4 separate regions of the Homo sapiens genome follow, and regions 2, 3 and 4 are each linked to region 1. Evidence: promoter capture Hi-C in 16 types of primary human blood cells and fetal thymus (Javierre and others, 2016). All regions are on one chromosome and are shown on one strand. Each heading gives the region's core, a stretch centred on a gene start or on the middle of the fragment in contact. The rest is flanking DNA. Distances are from core to core; before and after follow the strand shown.

Evidence for each region. The method cuts DNA at HindIII sites, captures the fragments that hold promoters and counts their contacts. A CHiCAGO score of 5 or more calls a contact.
Region 2: a contact is called between a fragment that was not itself captured here and the fragment with the promoter of SMC3 in region 1, in 17 of 17 cell types (total CD8 T cells, total CD4 T cells, neutrophils and 14 more). The highest score is 14.8, in total CD8 T cells.
Region 3: a contact is called between a fragment that was not itself captured here and the fragment with the promoter of SMC3 in region 1, in 1 of 17 cell types (total CD4 T cells). The highest score is 6.4, in total CD4 T cells.
Region 4: a contact is called between a fragment that was not itself captured here and the fragment with the promoter of SMC3 in region 1, in 8 of 17 cell types (fetal thymus, erythroblasts, total B cells and 5 more). The highest score is 9.1, in fetal thymus.

Annotation. Positions count from the first base shown.
Region 1 is chr10:110,565,931-110,569,516 of GRCh38, forward strand. SMC3 (structural maintenance of chromosomes 3) reads left to right here and starts at 1,765. Exons shown (of 29, transcript NM_005445.4): 1 at 1,765-1,901; 2 at 3,008-3,083. The coding sequence starts at 1,887. LOC105378483 (a long non-coding RNA gene) reads right to left here and starts at 1,378. Exons shown (of 2, transcript XR_946318.2): 1 at 1,103-1,378. RefSeq lists enhancers at 68-770, 1,585-1,634, 1,645-1,744 and a silencer at 2,085-2,374. The HindIII fragment of the contact is 2,181 bases long and covers 1,568-3,586 here.
Region 2 is chr10:110,287,360-110,291,153 of GRCh38, forward strand. MXI1 (MAX interactor 1, dimerization protein) reads left to right here. Exons shown (of 6, transcript NM_130439.3): 6 at 1-6. It overlaps SMNDC1 (survival motor neuron domain containing 1), which reads right to left. Exons shown (of 6, transcript NM_005871.4): 6 at 3,371-3,794. Among named protein-coding and RNA genes, the nearest start is that of SMNDC1, 16 kb to the right of the region's middle. The HindIII fragment of the contact is 3,746 bases long and covers 1-3,461 here.
Region 3 is chr10:110,269,306-110,273,003 of GRCh38, forward strand. All of the region lies in intron 3 of MXI1 (MAX interactor 1, dimerization protein), which reads left to right. Among named protein-coding and RNA genes, the nearest start is that of SMNDC1, 34 kb to the right of the region's middle. The HindIII fragment of the contact is 8,320 bases long and covers 1-3,698 here.
Region 4 is chr10:110,876,011-110,879,679 of GRCh38, forward strand. It overlaps PDCD4 (programmed cell death 4), which reads left to right. Exons shown (of 12, transcript NM_014456.5): 2 at 1-60. The coding sequence starts at 18. Among named protein-coding and RNA genes, the nearest start is that of PDCD4, 5.9 kb to the left of the region's middle. The HindIII fragment of the contact is 1,757 bases long and covers 1,026-2,782 here.

The DNA.
Region 1 (3,586 bases), core at 515-3,014:
CTCCTGACCTCAAGTGATCCACCCACCTGGGCCTCCCAAAGTGCTGGGATTACAGGCGTGAACCACCATACCTGTCCTAAGCTTTAAATAATACAACTAAAATCTAGAAGTAAAATGTTTAGATTGAGTGCAGTGGCTCATTCCTGTAATCCCAGCATTTAGGGAGGCAGAGGTGGGAGGATCGCTTGAGGCCAGAAGTTAGAGACCAGCCTGGGCAACATAAGGAGACCTGGTCTCTACAAAAACAAAAAAAAGCTGGGCTTGGTGGCCACAGCCTGTAGGCTGAGGTGGGAGGATGGCTTGAACCCAGGAGTTTGAGGCTGCAGTGAACCATGACCGAGCCACTATGCTCCAGCTCCACCCTGGGTGACAGAGCAAGATCCTGTCAAAAAAAAAAAAAAAAGTTAGAAATAAAGAAAAGAAAATGCTTACATATTTATTTAATTTATTTTGAGACAGTCTCGCTCTGTTGCCCAGGCTGGAGTGCAGTGGCGCGATCTTGGCTCACTGCAACCTCTGCCTCCTGGATTCAAGCAATTCTCCTGCCCCAGCCTCCCGACTAACTGGGATTACAGGCACCCGCCACGACGCCCAGCTAATTTTTGTATTTCGAGTAGAGACGGGGGTTTCGCCATGCTGGCCAGGCTGGTCTTGAACTCGTGACCTCAGGTGATCCTCCCCCCTCAGCCTCCCAAAGTGCTGGGATTACACGCTTGAGCCACTCGACCAGGCCTATTTATTTTTTTAAACCAAGGGCTGGATAGGATTTGATCCGGGCTCCAGATAAAGGACTCCTAGGGAGATACCCTGGTTAGCAGAGGCAGTTAGGAGGCTACTAAAAATAGTTCAATCTAGAAATAATTAGGGCCAGAATTGTCTCCAGCAGCGGGCGGGGGTGGGGCTGGGGATGATTTGGGTAGTTATTTTGTTCTCTTCCCAGCAAGTAATTTCAGAGCAGCCCAGAGATTCATTTTCTAAACAAATGATGTTTTTCTCCCAAGACTGACAAGGATCAGACAGACCTAGGGTTGCCACTAGCACCTAGTATCTTTCAGGCTGTTTTCTTTTGTTTTTAAAGTGGATTAAAAGCTTTCAGCCTTACCTAAATCTTTGTTGCAATTGTACAGATCTGCCTAGATTTATAGCAGATGGTAGAACAGAAACAGTTCCCGACGGAATTAATCATCACATTATTAAAACAAATTTTCGAGCATTGACAAATCCCTTCGGGGTTGTCCTCCGAGTGGGCAATTCGTAACCAGCTTGGGGCGTGCTAAGATTGTAAACGTTCCTATGGAGAGCGATAACAAAGGGGCAGCAGTGACTCCGCACACAGAATTCCAAGAATCACCAGCATTCCATGTGTTCCAAGGCTAGCACAGTGCGCGCGAGGTCCGCTTTTTTAAACAGCGCGGAATCACGTGGCCGACAGCCCGCGGCGCTACTGGCCCTCGGAGTCTCCCTCTTGGCTTTGGCGCGGAACCTTTCCCCCTTTGTGGACGCGACCATTGGCCCCGCGCTCGGAGGTGGTACGGACCAACCCTACGGTCATAGATTTTCCGAGTGAAGCTTTTGACTAAGTCTCAGGAAAGCGTTAGCTACAGAATTCTAGATTCAAAAGAAATCCACCAAAAAACGCTGTGGAGGACTGGTTTTGCCTAAAAGAAAGAGCAGACCTGAACTTGACTCCTCCTACGCCCTGTGAAGGCTGCAAGGTGGTTCCGTCCGAGGCGCGGACTCCGCCCCCACGAGCGCCGCCATTTTGTTTGGCTGAGGGGAGCGAGCGGCGCTTTGGGGGAGGGGTCGCGTAGGCGCCTCACCTGACCCTGCGGCCGTGCGGTTGCTGCTCCGGGGCAGGTCTCCTTCCAGGCCAGGGGCCCGGAATCATGTACATAAAGCAGGTAAGGCCTTCGCGTCCCTCCACCCCGTCATGGGCCGGTAAGGGCCGCTCCTTGAGGCGGGAGTGTTGCGGCGCCACCCGCAGCCTCTCCCCTGTCTCCACAGGCTGGACCAGGGCTGGGCGGGGACTGTGGGGGAGGAGGGAGACCCGGGTCCCGCTAGTGCCCCGGCTGCGGGGTCGCGGAGAATTGGGGCACTCCTTTGCAGCCCCGGCCTCCCTGCTGGCGCTTGTCTGGGAGAGGCAGGATCTCCGAGAGGTGTGGAAGGGCCGGCGGGCGGGCCGCTGGGAGGGACTGGGCCTTCCTGGGTGGCCCCAGAGCTGGCGGGGGGCACCCCGCCGGGGCGGCCGCGGGCGGGAAGGGCTGTGTGGTCCTGCAGGGGTGGCCTCACACGGCCCATGTGCCTGGGATGTGTGGAAAGGTGGCTTCCCCGGCCCGGGGGCGGCCCTGGGGGCATTGGCTGGGGTGTCGTCACCTGTCACTGCGGGGAGCCGTTCTTCTCCCCAGTTAACCCGCGAAGTGAGCGGGACCCTCCTGCTTGCAGGATACGGAGCGCCGCCTCCCTCGGTTGTTTACTTCTGTCAAAATGGTCTTCCCGCGCGGGACTCCACCACAAAGATGAGCCCAGGCACACGGCCTTGGAGACGGTTTTCTGTTGGGTCTGTCGGGCTCTGAGCACTCCTTCTTTGGAACGTGGGTTCTTTCAGGCTGGCCGGCGTGAGTGACTGAAAGCAGCACTCGGTGGTCTTGGAGTCAGGAGAGCTGGGGCCCGTCGGCCTGCTTTTATAGACTTGCTATTGTACTGCAGCGTTTAGGGTTCAGTTAAGCTCACACAGTGTTTTTGATTTTGAAAGGTCCTTAACAGGTTGACAGCATAACTCCTAAAAAAAAATAAAACCCAGCAGCATTGCCTTGGCAAAGATTACCGATAAAAGTACCTTTTTTTTTTTTTAGCAGATTTTTAATCACCACTTTCCAAAATGAATTTTTCTTATATGAAATTTCGAGTTTTCTATATTGCATTAAATGAAAAACAAGAAAGAAATGCAAGAGAAAAATGTTAATTTTTTTTGTGGGGTGGGTTCTCAAAAATGTTTTTTATTTACTAGGTGATTATCCAGGGTTTTCGAAGTTACAGAGATCAAACAATTGTAGATCCCTTCAGTTCAAAACATAATGTGATTGGTAAGTGTTCTTGGTTTACTCGGTCATATTTATAGTCTATACAGATAATGTAAATTCTGTCCATTTCTATATTGGCTTAAGGAGACAGGAATTGTCTTTGAATATTAAGTTATATTTTTCTGCGTGAAATAACTTTTCTGTCTTATTGCACTGATGAATTGCTTATTTTTATAAACTTAAAATGTTTGGATAAGACACTCATAAGTTATCCATTTTTTATCTAGGTAGCCTTGTATGTGTGTGTAAGAGTGTTTTAAAGCATTTCCGCTCTTCTGTTCTTGTTATATATCCTAGTGAAAATGCTGACTGTTGCCTTATTTCAGAGACAGACAATTTTTATTCACAAAGTAGATGCCAGGATTCCCCCCCCACCCCGGCAGTCAGTGTCTCTAAGGACAGACCATGTAGCTAGATTGGAAGAGCATAAACTTTGGAGCATAACAGAATGGGGTTCAAATCCCAGTTATAGGGGGGTGGGGGCCTGGGGGAGGGATAGCATTAGG
Region 2 (3,794 bases), core at 339-2,838, 280 kb before region 1:
GAAGAATACCTTTCTTTTTGTACCATCCTTCTTTATGAAGGCAAAAACATGAATGGGTATCCACACCTTAAGAGGTAACTATCTCCTAAATGTCTGTTGATACCAAATCAGTATCAATGCCAAATCAAATGGCAGTTTGAATTATAATTGCCATTCCTGTTCTGCAATTTAAACAGGAGCCTGACTGGTAACTCCATATAACCTAACTGCATGTGGTTTAATGTGCCACATTAATAATAATATTAACTGCCTCAGGTAGGACACAAAGCCATTCTCATGATCTGTTCTCTAAATAACTTTTGGGAGCATCCTTTAGCTACACTATTATTCAAATTGCAAACAAGTCTGGAAGTTCCACTAATCTTATTTAGGGTACCCTATTTATAGAACACCTGAGTGACATTTATATTAAAAGGTACAGGTAGGCCAGGTGCAATGGCTCACACCTGTAATCCCAGCACTTTGGAAGGCAGAGGTGCGCAGATCACTTGAGGTCAGGAGTTTGAAACCACCCTGGCCAACATGATGAAATTCCGTTATCCACTAAAAAAAAAAATACGAAAAATTAGCTGGGCGTGGTGGCATGCACCTGTAGTCCCAGCTACTCAGGAGGCTGAGGCAGGAGAATCTTGAACCTGGGAGGCGGAGGCTGCAGTGAGCTGAGATCGAGCCACTGCACTCCAGCCTGGGCAGCAGAGCGAGACTCCGTCTCAAAAAGGTACAGGTAAAACCTACTGTAGCGCGTTATGACTAGAGGATTCTGAAGTCACTGCAACTCAAGTTTCTGGTTAGAATAGGTATGAGAACTCCTACAGAAATGCCTTTCTAATCTCCCTGACAATGACTGCTTTTAGCATTATGAAGGAATTTTAAGAGGCAGTGAGGATTATTGAGGCAAAGTTGCTGACCAAAATCAGGTTCCCAACAGTTAACCCAGAACAGTAAAGTGTGGGAAAAGCAAGTGTTTTAATTACACTGTAATCCCAGTTCCAACATTGCTGACCCTAGTTAAGTTGCTTGATTTCTTCATGGAGCCCTTTTCTTCCTGAAAAGCTATTATAAGTACTACCTCTATCTTGAAGGGTTGTAAGGATTTAAGCTGATATATATAAACTACCACCCCACTCCCTGACTGCCATCTAGGAAGATGTAGCACTAAGGAAATTAAAAGGGGTGTATTTCTCTAGTTTCTCTGATGAATGCAACCTTTTAATGCATCCTTAATCCTGAATTTTAGTTACTTTGACTCCAGATCTTACAGAAAAAGACTGTTCCTAAATATTGGTTCACTTAAAATTCCATGGTAGGTAATACTTTAACATAAAGTAGTTATTTTTTATTTCCTATAGAATTTCTTTCTGTCACCCAGGCTGTAGTGCAGTGGTGTGACCTCGGCTCACTGCAACCTCCACCTTTTGGGTTCAAGCAATTCTCCTGCCTCAGCCTCCTGAGTGGCTGGGACTATGGCATGTGCCACCACACCCGGCTAATTTTTGTATTTGTTAGTAGAGAGGGCATTTCACCATGTTGGTCAGGCTGGTCTCGAACTCCTGGCCTTATGTGATCCGCCCACCTTGGCCTCCCGAAGTGCTGAGATTACAGGTGTGAGCCACTGCACCCAGCCTCCTATAGAATTTCTTAAATGAAGGCTTTATAAGATTAATGCAGCATCAGTTTTAGTGATTAGTTGGTCTTTCTAGAAAAAAGAAAAAGGACTAATCTCAAGTTGAACATATTATACACTGATAATAATGTGCCCTAGGTCAGTATTTAGTGCTGACTTTGCCAAGAAAAGACAATCAGCAGCTATCTCCTTTCCTATGTATCAGAACTAATAGGAAACTGGTTTTCTTGTGGAATATGTCAGATTGTTTTAAATAGGCAGCGTAGTTCAAAATAAATGTACTGGCTGAAAACTTCACTTCCTGTTGTTTTACCTTTCTATACAGTCATAAATTAGAGAAAATGGCTTTAAATGAAGTTCTTTTAAGATACTGCCAACTAACTTACTGTAGTTTTGGAATTTTTTCCATATCCTCAAGCTCATAGCTCTTTGCCATGGGGAATGCTTTAAAAATCTTTATTGGTAGGGTAATAATTGAGATACTTATTTCAGATGCTCACACCAGGGCACAGAATAGCACTGTAAAAATATAACAAAACCTATAAAAGTACCTCTAAAATTATAAGAAGAATATACATTTAAGATCAGTCGTTTCTAAATTAGTAGCTTCATCACACTTAGAAAGCTAGGTCAACTAAACCTGAGGGGCGATTTTGGAGGGAAAAACTCCAGGCAAAAGAATTAAAGGGATACTTACTCCTTCCTGCTACTTCTGAACAATGAACATTTGGACAGTTACCATCTATTAAAGTGATTACTAGCCTAGCTTCAGATCTCAGGCTTCAACTCTAGTTTCCCAGGATATGGAGTCAAGTGTTTCCTCCAAGCCTGAATTCTTTGTTTCTCTGGTCAGAAATTCACTGCATCTTGCTAAAGTAAGTACAGGGCTTGAAAGGGGAAAAAACAAAAGCACATCAGTTTTACCAAGAAAGGTAAATCCTGAGCCAGCAAACAACAACCATAACTTTCAGCCCCAAGTTGAGAAAGTAGCTCTTCAAACAAAATGCCAACCTTCTCTCCTAATGATTATCACCATGGCTCTTTCAGCCGTATTCTTAAAAAAGACTAAGTGGAGAAACAAATTACAGTTTAAATAATTCCAGTGACTATACTGGTTTTGTTTTAAATGAACTGGTAAGGTGTGTGGTGGAACTAAGTTTCCAGTTTTTGTTGCCTGGGAACTGAAAGATTAATTAAATATCCAAAACTTCGTATTTTTAGCTAGTTCAGCTGTCAACTACTACAAACCCCTATTATTCTCAGTTCTGCTTTACCCCAATCAAGGCCACAAAAGAACCACCTTTATATACATAAGTTAAAAGGCAGAAAAGGCAATTAAAACACCTCACAGAAATCTAACACTATTTTGTTTTATTTTACTCTTTTGGCTAGGCCAAAACGAATTATTAAAATGTTCCATCTATAAAATTGATTTCTGAACCTCTTAAGATGTTTCTTAAGAACATAACTATACACATACATAGGCCTTTTAAAAGATGATTGGATAAAGGGCGCCAATTACTTGGGTTTTTCTGTTTGTTTAAAATACAGTATTACCTGTTATTTTGCCTGCTATGCTCCTCCTCTCTACTGCAGTAAAAATTCAGTTTAACTTGCAACTCAAAAATCCTAGATACAAAGAATGTTTACATTTACTGTTGAACTTGTAAATTGCCATTTATACTAATTGATTGCTTCGTAGTACCATACAGATACTTAATTCAGCTGATATTTATTGAATCAAGATTTAAAAAAATATAAAACCTCATTGGTTTTAATAGATTTTCTTCCTTTATATTTCAGTTACTACCCAAGTTAAAGCAAAAAGCTAAATCAAAGCTTTAAATTTTTTTTGGTTGAATTTACAACTGGTAGTTTTTTATCTTATAAAAATTGTAATTATAAAATTACAATCTACAGACACATGAGTCACACAACTACAGTTTTCCTTTATGTTAACCTGATGGTCTCCTTTGCTATTTTTAAGGCAGACATTTGGCATTAGAATTGCATACTGGAAACAGACACACACCCTTCATTGTGACAACAAGCAATTTTTTAAAAAAAATGTGTTGCTACAGTAACTGATGCATCTTGTTTTGGTTTGACGCCTAGTCTTCATGATTAGGCTAAAAGGTAATTTTTCTTCATTTCCAAAGTCAAACTTTTA
Region 3 (3,698 bases), core at 488-2,987, 300 kb before region 1:
TATGAATATTCCCCTTAAAATGAGCTATTATACAACTCACATCTTATTAGTAGGGCCACTTTTAAAGGTGCTTTGCTATTTTCATTTTCTGCTTCTAGATGAACAGCTATATTACAAAGCATTCTTTAAATGTGCTGTTTTGTGCTATGTAAGATCACCATTTTAATTAGAGATCAGTAACAGTATTTCGTCATTTCCCTCTTCCATCCTGGACAATAATTTGATACAATAAAGCAGTTACACTGGGCTCTGGGTGGGAATAGAGCTGTGAGAGTTAGACTTAAACTTTTGTAGAAGAGAAGACTTAATTCTTGCATTTTGTACATAAAATTAGGTCAGTGTCTTGTAGAACATTATCACTGCGTCTCAGATCTCACTTGCCAGCACGTAGGAAGTTTGTTTTGGTTTCAAAATGTACTTTACCCCATGGTGGCTGGCAGGGTACAATACTATTGACATCACTGTGTTTCAAATAGAAAGTTAACAAGTAGCTACTGTTGTGATTGCAGATTGCCTTCCCAGTCCCTGTGAGAGAATGCTTTTTCTTTTGGACAGCAACACTTCTCAGCCCCTTGGTACCATTAAATCAGCCAATGGGGGCTGCCAGAATAGAGATGAACACCAACAAAAGGCCAAAGAGTAGAAAAACTGTTAATAAGGCAAAAATCTTTAATCAGTTTCCAAATTGATGTGAAAGATAATTAAAAAATATTCTCTCCCATCGATGGCTAAGTTTTGACAGTAGTCCAGGTTCAGAGCCTGATCTCTCTAGAGAGGAGTATCCCTTCCCTCTACCCAGACCCCTGGAAAGTTGCCAAAGGAAAATAAGCTATTTTGTATTTAGAACAAATTGCCACTGTTTTCTCCAGTGATGTAGCCCTATTTCCCAGACTTTGAAACTTGGAATACAGAAAGTTCTTGTGTGACCAAAGAAGAAATATGGTGAATGAATGATCAAGTTTTTCTTTTTAACTAAATCCTTATAAACAGATAAGAGAGGGGAAGTATGCATAGAAACTAAATTTAGCACAGAATGGATGTCAAGTGAGCAATTTCTGTTAAATCACTTTGGAGTTTGGGTTCCTTGTGGGAGTTCCAGTGAAGAACAAATGCCTCTGGAACAAGATTTAATTATTTTTTTTTTTTTCAAATGAGGCTGTCAAAAATGAAGTCTTCCTTAGACATGAATGCAGGATAATTAAAAAAAATAGTTGTTTATATGTTCTGCACTATAGTCTTCAACTTAGCAAGCAGTCCATGGATCTGGTAAGCATACACTAGTTTCTCATTTATTACATGGGATTAAGAACTGTTGACTTAATTTTTTTCTTCTTTGCATTGTGGAATATTGCTTTTTAGACTTTCCCTTCTCATACCTTGGTTTTCTTAGCTGTTTGTTTTCCTAGTCCTAGGCCCCTTTCACTGTAAATACTTTGATAAAGTCATTCTGTTGTAAAAGCTGCAGTTCTTAAACCCTTTGCTTCACTATTAAAAAAGGTGTTGGCCGGTTGCGGTGGCTCATGCCTATAATCCTAGCACTTTGGGAGGCCGAGGCGGGCAGATTGCCTGAGCTCAGGAGTCCGAAACCACCCTGGGCAATATGGTGAAACCCCGTCTCTAGTAAAATAAAATAAAAAAAAATTAGGCTTGGTGGCACATGCCTGTAATCCCAGCTACTCAGGAGGCTGAGGCAGGATAATTGCTTGAGCCTGGGAGGCGGAGGTTGCAGTGAGCCGAGATCGCGCCACTGCACTCCAGCTTGGGCAACAGAGTGAAACTACGTCTCAAAAAAAAAAAAAAGTGTTGACTCTCATCAAGAGTTAGGTTGGAGACTGTTGGTTACTCTACATGTAGACATCTTTGGTGGTATGCACCTTATTAACATTTGCTGGTGATTTCAGCTGCACCAGAAAAAAAAAAGGTTAAGAGTTCTGGCATTCATAAATAGATCTCTCACAAATGCTGGCCTGGCATCTGATTATACTGTTTGGAGGTCCTGGTGTTGATTGTTACCTCAACTTTGGTGAGTTAGAGAGTCCCAGAAACATCCACTAGAAGTATTACATCTCTCCTCCCCACTGTGTGCCAGTCATTCTGTTTATTTGAAAAACAGAAATGACTAAAAGTATGGATTCACTCTCAATTGAAATACAGTGTGATTAGTATGAAATCAAGTATCATCTGAGGAAGGAGTATGGCAAGGATGATCTTGTGGAAGAAATTGTTTGGCCATGGCCTGAAAATGAGTTAGATGCCCACCAGGTGGACATTTGGAGAGAATGCATTCCAGGTAGAGATATTGGCAAGTATAAAAGCACATTTGGTTATGGAAGAGGTTTGCAAGGGTATGAGTTATGGGAAATGAGGCTGGAAAGGTGGTAGGCAGAGGACTAAATTATAGTCTTCAAACAGGTAAAGATTATACTACTGACAACTTGAAAAATCGTTATAGCATTTAGCTCAGTGGTATAATAAGGCACTATTGTTTACTGATGATAATTGTTATTGACTGAGTGGCACTTCATGTTCTTCATATTTCTGAGTTGTAAAGACTAAATGACATTTCAGCCTATGTGGTATCTGTGTAGTTTGAGAAAGAATATGTGACTATTTTGTCATCATTAATTTACATCTCCCTTTCCTCTCTCTTCCATATCTTCTCTCCCTTCTCCCCTGTCCCTTCTTTTTCCCTCTCCAAACCTTTGAGAGACATAATCCCAGCCATGAGTCAAAAATGATGTTCCAAAGTCCATAGTGATGTGTTGTGATTTGCTGTAGCAGTTTGAACATAGATTCCTGGAGGCCCTGGGATGTAGTACAGGTTGAGCATCCCAAGTCCACAAATCTGAAATGCTCCAAAATCTGAAACATTTTGAGTGTCAACATGACTCTCAACAGAAATGCTCATTGGAGCATATCAGACTTAGGATTTTTGGATTTGGGATGCTCAGCTGAGTATAATGCAAATATTCCAAAATCTGAAAAAATGAGAAATCCAAAACATTTCTGGTCCTAAGCATTTCACATAAGGAATACTCAACCTGTCTGAAATAATATGAAATTTGAAGTCTTCTTTTAAAAACACATTTTGCATTATCTGTGTTTGTTTTTATATAAAATATTTTTCTTCCAAATTTTTGAAAAAATTATGACTTCTGGAAAGGATAGTATAACCCTGTGGCTTCAAATATCCTCTGGCTCAGTGTTGAATACCTCTAGAGGTATATATAGCCTATGCTAAGAACTATTTATATTTTATTGAAAGAAAGTGGTTTTAAAAAGTCTCCCAAGAATAAGTAACATGCATCTCAACCATTTTAATTCTTATTTGTATACAGATAAGCCCTTTCATGCTGAGGCTGACAATGTGACAGAATAATTTATATTATTATATTATATATTATATGTAATTTGTAGAATTTGCAGCTTTATTATACCACTTGTTAATATTTCTATTTGATTATTTTATAAGATACCAATTAAGAAGGCTATTTAAGTGAAAGCTGCTTTTTTGAAAAGTGAGAAGAGAGTCCCAGCTATTTTCCTAAGTTTTTATTTCTGTCATCATTGAGTCCCATGACTACCACAATCAGATCTGACACTAGGGACCTGCCACTTGCCACGTTACTACCTGGGAGTTAACAGTCTGTTTATTTTCTGTGAAGTAGATAATATATGAGTTGTAGGTGAAACATACG
Region 4 (3,669 bases), core at 654-3,153, 310 kb after region 1:
AGCGAAATTAAGGGAAAATGGATGTAGAAAATGAGCAGATACTGAATGTAAACCCTGCAGGTAAGTAAGGATATCCTTTTTTCTTTTTTTCTTCGTTTTGAGACAGGATCTTGCTCTGTCACCCAGGCTGGAGTGCAGTGGTGTGATCATGGCTCACTGCAGTTTTGACTTTCCTGGGCTTAAGAGATCCTCCCCTATCTCAGCCTCCTCAGCAGCTGGGACAACAGGTGTGTGCCACCACACCAGGCTAATTTTTTATTTTTTGTAGAGATAGGATTTCACTATGTTGCCTAGGCTGAAATATCTTGAAGCTTGACTATGTTGTGAGGAAGCTTCAGACCATTCCATATTTTATAAAAACATGATAGAAAAACTATCTTTAAATACTCTTTTATTCATGCTGTAAGAAAACAGGCTATATTATTTTTAAAGTCAAGTTTGTGATTTTTATTTTCATGGAAATTCATTACATGTCCTATTTTTCTGCCTATCCTTTCACATTCCACATATTCCTATTCTCTGTTATATAGTACAGAATAGAGAAGAATAGTGAGCCTGCTTATTTTCACATGGGCTAGTTAGTGATTTCTGTAATATAAACTTACTGGTATCTTTGGTATCTTTCCTAACAAATAATTTTTATATTCTAAATTACCTAGGGTATTTTCCCTAATTCTCCATGGTGCTTCAATAGCATGTTATTATCATAAAAATGAACAGTTTTGTGGAATAGATGACCAAATGTGAGTAACTCAAGATAATTTAAAATGTATTTATAGTTTTAAAAATAATCTCCCAAAAAGTTAATTAGAATTGTGTAATATCTGAATAGTGAGAACAGTTCATATTGGTATACTTTGGATAATTCTTTGTCTTATAATTTTATTAATATTGAAAGCTATTTTCTGTCATTTTAAGTGTATTTCGTAACTAAATACTACATCTTTCTTTCCTCAGTGACTTAACTCACTATTGTTTACAATGTACATAGTTTTCTTTGATCTGAACAAACATGTTGAATTTGAAGCTTCTTTACCATTGTTTATTTACAGATCTTTTTAAAGTATGGTAAAAAATTGAAAAAAATTTATGTAATTAATGATCATTTCTGTGCTGCTGTATACAATAGCTGTATGAGTATGCTTTAGGGTTATAAATGGATAATATGTACCTACTTAATTGAGATGGGGATGGTAATACAGTTTAGAATATATTTTACATATAGGTAATTGCTTCTTTTCTGCACTGTCCAGTATGGTGACCACTAGCTACATGTGGTTATTACTCCTGGGCTCAAGTGATCCTCCCTCTTCAGCCTCCTCAGTAGCTGGATTACAGGCGTGTGCACCACTGTGCTTAGCCACATGTGTTTGTTGAGTACTTGAAATGTGGCTACTCTGAGTTGAGATGAAGGTCAACTATCTCAATAATTTGTTATATTGCTTGCATGTTGAGATGATATGGTTATATTAGATTAAATAAAATATATTTAAATTAATTTCACCTGTTTTTACTTTTTAATGTGGCTACTGGAAAATTTAAAATTTCTTATATGGCTTGCATTCTATTTCTATTAGAAATAGAAACACAGCTTTAAAATGTGTACTTTTTGTTTCCTAACTACAATAAGACCTAGTTCTAACCCTGTTCTTGGTGCTTGTGTCCAGCACTGCTTTAAAATAAAAGACTTGTTCTTCAATATTTGAATAGGCCTAAGATAGACCCTCTTTGTAGTAAATTCTTCACATAGCAAATAGTCCAAGTCACACTCTTACTCTTTTACTTGGAGGAAGTAGGTTATTCTGACCTTCAGTTTTTTCATGTATAAAATTGGGATATAAATACCCTCTGTATAGATTTATAATTAGGATTTAGTGAGATATTGTATATGTGTGTTAAGTCTGTGAAGCACATACTAGGTATGTAATACATGAAAGTGTGGTAATGTTATTCTAATTATGCCACTCATTGGACACCAGTAATTGAAAATGTGATTTTCTGGTGCTGTGGTCATATACAATTGGAGTGGTTACTATTGAGATATCAGAATTCAGAAAGAGGGAATTAGTACACAGTAGGAAACAATTTTGAAGTCAATCACATTCTGTACTCAGCTTATCATTTTAATTTTGGTTTTCTTAAAGTCAGCTCAATAGGGGTTATGGAACTCCAACAGTTAGGTGAGTATGAGTAACAAAATATAAAGCAATTAATACAAACATGGGTTAAAAATGATAAGGTCAAATATATAAATTATACTGAGAGAATGTTTACTGCTGCAGAGACACAAACATACTTGAAAGGATGTTAAAATTGTTGAAGAAAAGAAAACTCGATTATGGGAAATAGATGTATTTAAATTGAATACTCCAAGGGACAGTTTAAGACATTTTATTATAGTTCTGACTCCTGTGTCTTCTGGACCAGTTTTGTGGTTCACCTTAATGGCACAATGATGAAAGCACTATGTTACAGGTAGATGTTTAATGTTTTTCTCAACCATCCACTCTTACACGAAAATGTCATCTAATTTATGTGATCCTGATCTTTCTGTCCCCTTCCACTTAATCATTTTTGTTTATCTCTCTTTACATTCACGCCCTTGTTCGTCTCTTTAGCTGTCAATACTCTGCTGTATTCTAGTTTTGTATTTTCTGTAGTTATATGGGATTAAAAATGTGGGTTTGAATTCTAGCCATAATCCTTTCTAGATATGTAACTTCTTGTGAAACACATTCCTTCTGTAAAATGAGGATAAACAGTTTCTTTCTAGAGCTCTTGAAGCTTATAGACCACATATGTAAAGTGCCTTAGCTAATAGGTACCAGGTAGTGTGGAATCTAATAGGTACCAGGTAGTGTGGAACCTGGTATCTAATAGATGACAATAGTAATGGTAATGATGAAAGAAACAGTACTACGACTACTTCCACTAAGACTATAATTACTACTGATGGTTATGATGATGTCCCAAACACACCATCCTAACACCGGCTTCTTACCAGTTTGAAAACTTTTAAGGCATTGTTTGACTTCTCTTTAATCCTAGATACATTCTGCTTAAAAGTCCTTCATTATTTTCTTTAAAAGTGTAACATTATTATTTATCCCACAGTTACTACCCTTGCTCTTTACCAGTTAGCTTGTGACTGAATTACTGAAGCATTTTCTTAGCGGTTTCCTACTTTATACTTTCTCTTTTTGTAATATACTCAGTATTCTTCTGCCAAATGAATCCCTCCCATCTCTTCCCTATGATATCTAACTTAAGCTCTGACAATTTGAGTGTGGGAGTAGTTAGCAGTGATTCTGGTGAGGTAAGCAGGGGCAAGATCATAAAGGACCTTAAGTTACAAGGTAAAGAGTTTACATTTTGGCTGGGTGCGGTGGCTCACGCCTGTAATCCCAGCACTTTGGGAGGCCGACGTAGGTGGATCACGAGGTCAGGAGATCAAGACCATCCTGGCTAACACGGTGACCCCATCTGTACTAAAAACACAAAAAAATTAGCCAGGCGTAGTGGCAGGCATCTGTAGTCCCAGCTGGGGCAGGAGAATGGCGTGAACCCGGGAGGCAGAGCTTGCAGTGAGCTGAGATTGCACCACTGCACTCCAGCCTGGGTGACAGAGCGACACGCTGTCTCAAAAAAAAAAAAAAAAAAGTTTACATT